2 separate regions of the Homo sapiens genome follow, and region 2 is linked to region 1. The links are contacts of gene promoters, found by promoter capture Hi-C in human tissues and cell types (Jung and others, 2019). All regions are on one chromosome and are shown on one strand. The core of a region is centred on a gene start or on the middle of the fragment in contact, and the rest is flanking DNA. Distances in the headings are between cores, read along the strand shown.

Evidence for each region. Contacts are between HindIII fragments. The study calls those that stand out against the background at their distance.
Region 2: a fragment that was not itself captured here is called in contact with the fragment with the promoter of SLC6A4 in region 1 in 2 of the 25 tissues and cell types used here (IMR-90 fibroblasts and lymphoblastoid cells).

Annotation. Positions count from the first base shown.
Region 1 is chr17:30,234,447-30,239,970 of GRCh38, reverse strand. SLC6A4 (solute carrier family 6 member 4) reads left to right here and starts at 4,274. Exons shown (of 15, transcript NM_001045.6): 1 at 4,274-4,358. It overlaps LOC105371720 (a long non-coding RNA gene), which reads right to left and starts at 2,473. Exons shown (of 3, transcript XR_007065698.1): 1 at 2,200-2,473; 2 at 1,171-1,651. RefSeq lists an enhancer at 742-1,642, cis regulatory regions at 2,638-2,680, 2,464-2,705, 3,094-3,133, 3,010-3,834, 2,706-4,195 and 2 more, a silencer at 3,858-4,040 and promoters at 3,541-4,295, 2,450-4,295, 2,476-4,300, 4,196-4,490, 2,706-4,490 and 1 more. The HindIII fragment of the contact is 6,948 bases long and covers 1,748-5,524 here.
Region 2 is chr17:30,315,426-30,320,949 of GRCh38, reverse strand. It overlaps TMIGD1 (transmembrane and immunoglobulin domain containing 1), which reads left to right. Exons shown (of 7, transcript NM_206832.3): 5 at 2,037-2,140; 6 at 3,717-3,757; 7 at 4,260-4,617. The coding sequence ends at 4,263. Among named protein-coding and RNA genes, the nearest start is that of TMIGD1, 16 kb to the left of the region's middle. The HindIII fragment of the contact is 8,272 bases long and covers 1-5,524 here.

The DNA of each region.
Region 1 (5,524 bases), core at 3,025-5,524:
GTTATTGTTATTGGCATTAGCATTTGCCCAGCAAGTGCTTCTGGGGGTGTTTGGGGTGTTATCATAGAGTGAGTGGTGTGGTGAGGCTGCTGCCGTAATACCTGACTGAGAGATAATGGGAGTTCAAGTCAAGAGGATGGTGGGGCTGGGGAGAGGGAGGTGGGAGACCGGGTGATGGGGTGCTAGGAGGAGGGTTTAGCAAAGGCAGAAGGCTCTGGAGGAATGAGGGGAAGGAGCTGGGAAAAATGACCAATGACAAAATGAACCTACTTCCAAATGTTTCTGGCCTTTCTTAGGGCTGAACCTGATCTGTTCCTCCCCCAAACCCCCCGCACTCCCAAAAGGACCTTGTCTGGAGTTCCCTTTAGCTTGCTTCATCTGGATGGGGTGGGCCTGCTAGGGGCTCCCATGGAGACCTCCGTAGAGATGAGCCCAGGGTTCACAGTGGCAGCAAGTCCTGCCTTGGAGGTGCCACTGAACATGAATGTAGAGTCACCAGAACCATGCCAGGAAAAACTGGGGGTCCCAGGAAAAACCAGGGGTGTCGGGGAGGTGCTGGTGGGAATGGAGCAAGATGACACTCTAAGGACTGAATATTGTCAGCATTTTCCTGGGCCTGAGAAAAAGCCCACAAGGAGGGGTGGGCCTTCTTCTTTCGTTATTGTATAAACAGGGCAGAGACAGGACAGACAGATGGCACCAAGGGCTTCCGGAGGGAGAGCCTGGGATTCGCATGGTTCGGTCCTGGCTGGCTCCACAGGGGACTCACTGCTGGCCTTTGAGACTTCCAGGAAGTGGGTTTTCTTGGTGGTGTTTGGGGCAGGTGTAAATATTTATGTGCCCCTTTCCTCTTAAAGTGAAAGCTTGTATTTATTCTGAGCCCCAGAGCAGCTTCTAAGCCCCACTATTTCTGGGCTCAAGCAGGTGAACAAAGAAAAACTATTGCTGTGCGGTGATTGCCAGGCAGCCTCTTCCCAGCTGCCCAGGACCTGTCGCCCTTGACATCTCCCTGGCTGTCCCTATACACCACCAGCACCAAGCTTCGCAGGTGCCTGCTGGGTTTCTGGCTTGCATCTCTTCCCTGCGGCCACCAGCTGACGCCTGCATTCACATTCTAAGGAACCCGTCTGTCCCAACCACCACGACAACCCCCTTCCCCCCTACTCTTACCTGCAGCCCACGCAGGTCACAGCCATTAGATCCTTCCCCTGAAGCGCTGCTTCCCTCCTGCCGCACTCAGGGCTCCCTCCTGCCTTCCATGCCCAGGACAGGGCCTCCCGGCCTCTCCAGGTCTCTGGAGCAGAGAGGTTGTGCCTTCCTCATGCGGTCAGGCTCAGGCTGGGAAGGAGCGGCCCAGAGGCGGGGGGAGGCACGGGTGCGGGGCTGCCTCTTCCCCGGTAGTGGACGCTGAAGCCTGTCCACCTGAATTGGAGGCGGGGCGGGGCAGTCGACTGACCGCCAGGCAGGGGAGCAGGGCGCGGGCTCAGAGGGAGGGAGTGGGAGGCCGAGGAAGGACAAGGTGCTTGTGGCGATGAGTATCAGAAGGCAGAGCGGAGCTGCTCAAGAGAGGCTGGCTCTGTGGAGGTGAGGACCTGCAGGTGGGCCTGGCCTCTCTGTGGGATGGTACCCAGGGCAGGAGGAAGAGAAACACCTGTTTAGAGAGAGGGGGAGGGTCTGGGCCAGTTGTGTGCGGACTCTGCCATGGAGGCAGGGGGAACCAGGGCGGGGCCGTCTGTGTAATTCTAATGTCATTTGCTAATGGTGGTTGCCCGCAGCTGGGGAGCAAGAGGGGAGGAGATGGGACCACCCGGCCAGAGAGAGGAGGGGTCGAAGGCCCCCTTGGAGGAAGGGCCCAGCGCACAGGGCCTGCAAGGAGTTGGCCCCTTCCCCACCCACAGCTGGGCAGTGCCCACTGAGATCATCCTCCCTACTTCACAAACAGAGACACAAAGGCCAGACAGCTTGAGGTTAAGGAGCTCGGTCAAGCCCACACCACAGTACAGGGTGGGGGCCGGGATTTGACCCAGGTCCACAGGGTGCCCACTCTCTAGGCAGCACCTGCACAGAACAGGGCAGTGCCATAGGGAGGGGCTGCGCGCTGGGCAGGAATGCATCTTCGGCTAGAAAGAGTCTAGAAGGAAGATCAGAAGTGGCGAGACTGCACAATTAAGAAGTGCTAAGAAGTCACACTGGACAGACCTGGTCTTGGTAGCCAAGCGCTGAAGTCACCCCTGCAGCCGTCCTCCGCTTTGGCGCCTCTTCCCAGCGTCCCTGCCCCCCTCCTTTGGCCCTCCTGGAAAGGACACTTTGCGTTTTCTGTTGCCCTTGCCTATACAGCACAAACATGCTCATTTAAGAAGTGGAACGTGGGAGGCAGCAGACAACTGTGTTCATCTGAAAGGAGGAGGCCCCACTCCCGTGCAGGCGCTGCCCCTGGGGGTGAAATTCCCAAGCTTGTTGGGGATTCTCCCGCCTGGCGTTGCCGCTCTGAATGCCAGCACCTAACCCCTAATGTCCCTACTGCAGCCCTCCCAGCATCCCCCCTGCAACCTCCCAGCAACTCCCTGTACCCCTCCTAGGATCGCTCCTGCATCCCCCATTATCCCCCCCTTCACCCCTCGCGGCATCCCCCCTGCACCCCCAGCATCCCCCCTGCAGCCCCCCCAGCATCTCCCCTGCACCCCCAGCATCCCCCCTGCAGCCCTTCCAGCATCCCCCTGCACCTCTCCCAGGATCTCCCCTGCAACCCCCATTATCCCCCCTGCACCCCTCGCAGTATCCCCCCTGCACCCCCCAGCATCCCCCCATGCACCCCCGGCATCCCCCCTGCACCCCTCCAGCATTCTCCTTGCACCCTACCAGTATTCCCCCGCATCCCGGCCTCCAAGCCTCCCGCCCACCTTGCGGTCCCCGCCCTGGCGTCTAGGTGGCACCAGAATCCCGCGCGGACTCCACCCGCTGGGAGCTGCCCTCGCTTGCCCGTGGTTGTCCAGCTCAGTCCCTCTAGACGCTCAGCCCAACCGGCCGCACAGTTTTCAGGGGTCAGTTCCTCCAAGTACAAGGGGCGGTGGCTTCTCTGGAGCTGCAAACTTGTCACTGCTATTTCCTTTCGGTCTTCTACTTCCTATCGTTCCTGGCCTCCTCTTGGGGAGAGGTAGAGCCCTCTCCTTTCCGCCTCAGGGACAACCCAAAGCAAGTACTGCATGTGCCCTTTTTAAAGTTTTAAATAATTTTAGCAAAAAGGATATTAACATTAAATCAATTTTTAAACTTTTTGAAAAAATTATCAAAACTACATGCACATGGTTCAAAACAATAGGCTCCTGCTGGGCCCTTTCAGATAATTCAAATTGTCACCAGGTTGGAGTGCAGTGGTTCGATCACGGCTCACTGCAGCCTCGACCTCCCGGGCTCAGCTGATCCTCCACCTCAGCCTCCTGAGTAGCTGGGAACACAAGCGCGAGCAACCACGCCCGGCTAATTAAAAAAATTTTTTTTCTAGAGATGGGGTCTTGCTGTGTTGCCCAGGCTGGTCTTGAATTCCTGGGCTCAAGCAATCCTCCCGCCTCAGCCTCCCAAAGCACTGTGCTCCTTTTTGACGCAGCTTTGAACTGTAGCTGGTTAACAAAATGAGAACCAGTTCTTCATTCCTTCATTGTGGAAGTCTTTATTGTGAGACTCTGGGGACGGAGAGGAATTAGACAAGGGCCTCTAAGCTGAGCTCACATCCCAGCCGGTCAGTCAGATAAACGCATGGGTATCGAGTACTGCTAGGTCCCAGGAAGAAAGAGAGAGCAGCTTTCGGGATGGGGACGATGGGGAGGTGTCCGAGGTCAAGAGAAAGCGGCACGAGCAGACCCCTGTGTGCCGTCCTGTGGGCGCGGGGCGGCAGGGGAGGCGCACACCTGCTCCTTTGTGCAGCCTCCCCCCTCCCGCAAAGTTAAAGAGCAGGAAAGTCAGGATTCCTCGCTCGGCCCTGCCCTGCCGGCTGCTCCGCGCTCCGCTCCTCCCTGCGAGCGTGTGTGTGTGTCGGGGGTCCCTCCCCTCCTGGCTCTGGGGTCGGGCGCGCACCCCGCCCCGTAGCGCGGCCCCTCCCTGGCGAGCGCAACCCCATCCAGCGGGAGCGCGGAGCCGCGGCCGCGGGGAAGCATTAAGTTTATTCGCCTCAAAGTGACGCAAAAATTCTTCAAGAGCTCTTTGGCGGCGGCTATCTAGAGATCAGACCATGTGAGGGCCCGCGGGTACAAATACGGCCGCGCCGGCGCCCCTCCGCACAGCCAGCGCCGCCGGGTGCCTCGAGGGCGCGAGGCCAGCCCGCCTGCCCAGCCCGGGACCAGCCTCCCCGCGCAGCCTGGCAGGTGGGTCCGCTTTTCCTCTCCGCCTCGAACCCACGTTTCTTTCCAGACCTTCTTCCCCGCCTCGGGGAGGGGGATAGAACCGCTGCGCCCCACCGCCCTGCGAGGAGGCGAGGAGGTGCATGCGCCCCAGCGGTGGGCGCCGGATCCTGCCCCTGCGCCCTCCACGCTCAGCAAGAGCCAGAGCTGAAGCTGACCGGCCAGAGTGGGAGACGAGGAACGTGGAGTGCTCGAAGTGGGCGGGCGTAGGGGGCTCCTTTGTCTATTGTTGCAGGGGCTTTGCAACCTCTTGAGGACCCGTGAAAGACCCCTTAAAGAGGGTCTTGAGCAAAGTGCTGTCCTGCGCTTTGGGAAGAGTTGCTTGCTTTCGTTTCAACCCATGGTTTATGTTTGATCTTTACTTTGCTGTCATCGCGTGCAGGTGGCTTTATGCAAAGGGAGAGTTCTGGTTGACACAAATGCCCAGACAGCTAGAGAAATCTCTGAGTGGCGCCTAAGTGGGCCGAGTCTCCGTGCGCTTGGGTGGTTTCACTGTCAGAGCTGAGGCGCTCTCAGACACCTCACAGGCCATTCAGAATGTATGTGAAACTCCAACTCCAACGACTGTGCTACGTGGTTGAAGGATATAACCATCATTTGCTTGAAAATTGTGTACATTCAAACTTGTTCTTGAAAAAAAGCTCTCTGGAGCTCAAGAGTGGATTTGGGTCTTGGGCTAAGGAGCAGATTTTCTTCTGAACTGGGGCTTTTGCATATTGAATTGTTCCTTTTCCATTTGGGACTCTGAAGAATTTGAGAGGGGTAGAATTTCTGAATCAGACATTACAAAGACTTTGTGTATGTATTTTTACCATCAGTTTTGTCCAGAAAAGTGAACCTGGTCAATGGATTATTTATGAGCCTGCTAGCTAACTCTCATCATAGGAAGACGAGAGCAAATATTTAATGTGTTTTGCCTTCAGTTACATAGGAAAAATGTCTAAGAAGGTGACATTGGGACTTGTGTTTAATGAAACAGAGAACTGTGGGCAGCGTCAGTGTTGGGTTTTTAGGAGCGTAGGGAGCACACAGCTTTGACTCTTTGTCCCATTACTTGCTTCTGTGTGAAGCCACTGAGGCCCCAGGGTTCGGGTTTTCCTGCCACGCACTCTGGGGTGGCAGTGACCGTT
Region 2 (5,524 bases), core at 1,757-4,256, 82 kb before region 1:
GGAGACAGAGGTTGCAGTGAGCCGAGATCAAGCCACTGCACTCCAGCCTGGGCGGCAGAGCGAGATTCTGTCTTAAAAAAGAAAAAAAGGGTCTCACTATGTTGCCTAGGGTAGAGAGCAGTGGCTATTGATAGGTGCAATCATAGGGTGCTATAGCCCTGAACTCCTGGGCTTAAGCAATCCTCCTGCCCCAGCCTCCCAAGTGTCTGGGACTACGGATATGCCACGCTGCCTGGCTTTCACTTTTACTTTTGAGAGTTTCATTCCATATCATATCAAAGATATTAAAGCAAAGCACATTGTATGTGCTTTCTGCTATAAAATTTTTGAAAGAATTTTTATAACTTGTATAGATTTTGAATTTTGTTATAAATAAGTTACTCATTTGGTTCTTGAGGTTTAAACATTATTATTTAACAGTTCGGTTAGAGTTGATGCCAGGTTGCATTTTACAGATGCTTAAACATTGATTAATTTTGATTAATTTTGCTACTTTCTTTTCATATCTTGGGGCCAATCATTTTTTTCTGGGTCTCAAATATTTTCAAAGGCTCTTAGAAAGCTTGCAAACACAGGCACTATGCCTATAGTGACTGATAAATAAAGTAGCTCTTGGCCCGGTGCGGTGGCTCATACCTGTAATCCAAGCACTTAGGGAGGCCAAGGAAGGCGGATCACAAGGTCAGGAGATTGAGACCATCCTGGCTAACACAGTGAAACCCCGTCTCTACTAAAAATACAAAAATTATCTCGGTATGGTAGCACGTGCCTGTAATTGCAGCTACTCGGGAGGCTGAGGCAGGAGAATTACTTGAACCTGGGAGGCAGAGATTGCAGTGAGCCGAGATTGCACCACCGTACTCCAGCCTGGGCAACAGGAGCAAAACTCCGTCTCAAAAAAAAAAAAATAGCTCTCAGTTGACCTGGTGTTTAGAAAATAAAGGGGTAGGCTTTCACTTCCAAGCTGTCATGGTTGCTGCTGATCTCTTCCTAGTCCAAGTTAGAAGTAGGCTCTCTCTCTTTGCATGGCATTTAGAGAGATGCAGAAAACTTTGCCAAGGTTGGGAAGGCTCATGCTTAGAGTCCTACTTCCCTAGAGACACTATGCAGCCACCTACCTTCTATAATGTCTTGTCACCTGCTTGGGGCACCATTGCAGTACAGGTACAAGGCTCCCCACTGCTTTTGAGGCCCACAGACCTCTCTCTCCTTCTTAGTCCAGAAAGCTCTCCACCCTTTCTCTTCTTGCTCTCAAAGCCTTCCTCCCTCTCTTCCCTCACCCACCCCAGGATACTTCCCAATATATTTTGGACTTTTCAAAATCCAGGCAAAATCGTTGACTTCAATCTACTTCTGCTCTGTGTGTGGCAAAAACTGTGGGTGAAGGAAGCACAAAATGGTCTACTTGTTTTAGGGGAGTTACTCATATTACAATAAATTATTATTCCACAAAGGAATTGATTCAAAACCTGCCTCTACCATTTACCAGTTCTGTGACTTTTTTTTTTTTTTTTTTTTTTGGAGACAGAGAGAGTCTTGCTCTGTCACCCAGACTGGAGTGCAGTAGCGCGACCCTGGCTCACTGCAACCTCTGTCTCCTGGGACCAAGCAATTCTCCTGCCTCAGTCTCCCAAGTAGCTGGGACTACAGGCACTTGCCACCATGCCCAGCTATATATATATATATATTTTTTTTTTTTTCTTTTTTTTTTACAGATGGGGTTTCACCATGTGGGCCAGGCTGGTCTTGAACTCCTGACGTCAAGTGATCTGCCCGCCTCAACCTTCCAAAGTGCTGGGATTCCAGGCATGAGCCACTGCACCCGGCCTAATTCTATGACTTTGAACAAGCACTCTAACCCCTCAAACCTCCTGGTTCCTCACCTGTGAAATGAGGACAATCATACCTACTTTTTGAGATTGTTGAGAAGGTTTAATTAAGGGGATGACACACATAAAGTTCAAGGCACCATTGCTGGGACGTATTGGAAGTATATAAATGTTCATTCTTATTCCCTGTGTTTGCATTTCCTACAGATAAAACTGTGGGTGTACCAATAGAGCCCATTATTGCTGCATGTGTTGTGATCTTTCTGACATTGTGCTTTGGACTGATTGCTAGAAGAAAGAAAATAATGAAGGTATCTAAGTATTCTGAGCTATTTAAGTAAAAAGCCATCATCTGAATAAAGGCAGAAAGCTAGAAATATAAGTGACTTCAGTTAGGAACCCTTCTTGGCAAAGTCAAATCTGGTCTTTATACCATGAGATCTAAAATACAGTTGCTCAAGGGAATAAAAATTATATGTACATTATGAGTACAGATTTACAAAGAAGAGAAGTGCACATGGGCAAAGCCTGAATTGAAAATAGCTGTGTTGCCAGGGGTAGGCAATTGGGGGCTGATTTTCCTCCTTTTAAATTGCCCTTTATTGTTGCTATGATACCTGTGGTATAATAAATAAATATAGGGAGGAACATCCGCTCTAGATTCAGAGATCTGCATGGAAAAGATGGCATTGGCTGCTCACTTCTGGACTATAGCCACATGCCCTGGCTGTAGTGGACTGGTGTTTGAATTATAAAGTGGTTATCCTCGTTGGTTGGTATGATTCAGAATACGTGCATGCTTAGGTTAATGCCATGCATTTGACTCTGCCAGCTAATTCAGTGCCAAAGGAGAGCAAAAAAGGCAGAAAGCCCTAGGCTGAGTTCATCATTCAGCAAGGGGCATTCTCCTTGGAACACATAGCAACAGGGCAGCCATGTCTCTCAAGAAGAAATTCACTCCACCCCCTATTCCAATCCCAAGCATATTTTAGTTGTTGTTGTTTCTTTTCTTTCTTTCTTTCTGTCTTCCTTTCTTTCTTTTTTTATTTTTTTGAGATAGAGTTTTACTCTCTCTCCCAGGCTGGAGTGCAGTGCCTTGATCACAGCTCACTGTAGCCTCAACCTCCTGGGCTCAAGTGATCCTCCCACCTCAGCCTCCCTAGTAGCTGGGACCACAGGCATGCACCACCGTGCCCGGCTAATTTCTGTATTTTTTGTAGACAGGGTTTTGCCATGTTGCCCAGGCTGGTCTCGAACTCCTGAGCTCAAGTGATCTGCCTGCCTCAGCCTCCCAAAGCACTAGGATTACAGGCATGAGCCACCACACCCAGCCACAAAGCATTTTTTTCTTTTTTTTTTTTGAGATGGATTCTTGCTCTGTCACCCTGGCTGGAGTGCAGTGGCGTGATCTCAGCTCACTGCAAGCTCCACCTCCCAGGTTCACACCATTCTCCTGCCTCAGCCTCCAGAGTAACTGGGACTACAGGCATGTGGCACCATGCCTGGCTGTTTTTTTGTATTTTTAGTAGAGACAGGGTTTCACCATGTTGGCCAGGCTGGTCTTGAAATCCTGACCTCAAATGATCCATCTGCCTTGGCCTCCCAAAGTTCTGGGATTACAGGTGTGAGCCACTGCACTCGGCCGCATTTTTTTTTCTATAAAAAAGTAAATACTCAAGTATCTAAGACACTGGAAGCATCTTAACTAAGAGTTACATCTTCTTTGAGTTTAATAAAAACTACTAGTGTGGCCCCAAAAATGACGCCTGAGCCAGTGCAGAGGTGTGCACAGGACACACACCTGTCCTCGAGCCATCTTAATGCATTCAAAATATTTCTCCATGGGCCTTAAAAAGCAGGCTAATTTACTGCCATGTTTGCTTTTAGCTCTGCATGAAGGATAAAGACCCTCACAGTGAAACAGCTCTGTAAGTACTCTAGGCCGGGACCAGTGCTTTTTAAATAAGCAGATGAATAGCAGTGATATGCATCACTCTAGACAAACTCCAGAGATGGGAGGTGCTGGAAGGGGAAGGGGTTCAAAGGAGAATAGAAGGTGGAGGAAAATCTGCCTCCACTTTAGAGGAAGACAGGTTGAAAAGTTGCCTAGAATAGAGAACACCTTTAGTCCTAAGCCTGCTCCCTCTTTAAGTGAGTTTGCCCAATGTTTGTGCAACTGCATTTTATTGCCACACAATGCAAATGCTCTGGAGGAAGTCACTGGTCCATACTGCTTTACAACAAGGCCAGGAACCACATTCATCCCCATACTGCCTTCTCTTTGCAGCTTTGTTTAGCGCTTCTAGCATATGTGAAGTGGGTAGTAGGTAATAAGAACAAAGGCATGTTGTCAGAGAGTATGGGTTTTGTTTTGAATTTTTTTCTTATTGCTATGAGCATCATTATTATTAATTTCTTCATTCATTTCAGATGAGAAAGCTGAGATGCCATCGAATACAGAGAGAGTTTTGCATCAGGACCTCCACAATTTATGTAGTCCCATCTGTATTTATTGCTATTATTAAATTCACTCCTGTCACTCCTGTTTCATTAATCACTTAACAGTAGTTGTTAGGACTAATTTGATACACTTGTGGAACATTTTTATGGAAAGAGCTATTAAGAATGAAAAGTAAGATTTTGTTAAGTCTTCTCCTTGAAGTATATGTTAATTAATTGAGATTTGTTCCAAATAGGTTGGTAATCATTTACTGTTTAGTGTGTTTTTTTTCTAGGTAGGAGATACTTGGGTCTCACAAATTGGTGCAAAGCCAAAAAAAAAAAAAAAGGAAGAAACAACAGAGTAATCAATTTTTTAAGTTGCCCAGGAAGCATATAAAAAATACCAGTTATGCCAGGTGTGGTGGCTCCTATAATCCCAGCACTTTGGGAGGCTGAGGCAGGCAGATTACTTCAGGCCAGGAATTCAAGATCAGCCTGGCCAACATAGTGAAAACCATCTCTACTAAAAATACAAAAAGCCAGGTGTAGTGGCATGCACCTGTAATCCCAGCTACTTGGGAGGCTGAGGCAGCAGAGTTGCTTGAACCTGGTAGGCAGAGGTTGCAGAGCTGAGATGGCACCACTGCACTCCAGCCTGGGCACCAGAGCAAGACTCTGTCTCAAAAACAAACAAACAAAAAATCAATTATTATCTACCTTCACTGTCGTTTCATAAAAGAAATGTTTTAGGACTAAAGAAAGAAAGAAGACTATAATCTTGAAATATAAGATGCTCCTTTAAATTGAATAAATTTAGTATTATGAAAAACTCAGCGTATGTTCCTATTTTTCTCATTTCATTGTAGTTGACATGGTCACAAAATTTGTGAGCTCTATGTGGCAATGAATGTTCAAAGAGCAATGAAATTGGTAATTTGTGTTGTACTATCTGTACTAATTATGAGTCAGCCTGTACTTTTCTCGTACCTCTCCCATTTAAACCACAGCTCTCATAATTTATAATTGACTTTCCCCATCTCCATTCTTTCTTCTTTTTTCCCCCATAAGAGTTTATGCTTCTCTTTCCCACACAACTGGGAGCTTGTAGGGGAGGCAGCCTTGGCCAGAATCATCTTTGATGTCTCTTCTGTGCTCCTCCTCTGTCTTAGAAAAACAAAACAAAACTGTTTTCATCTAATTTTGCAGTAGCTAAATGTGCCACAGTGCAAGAGAGATCTGCTGTCAGACAGGTG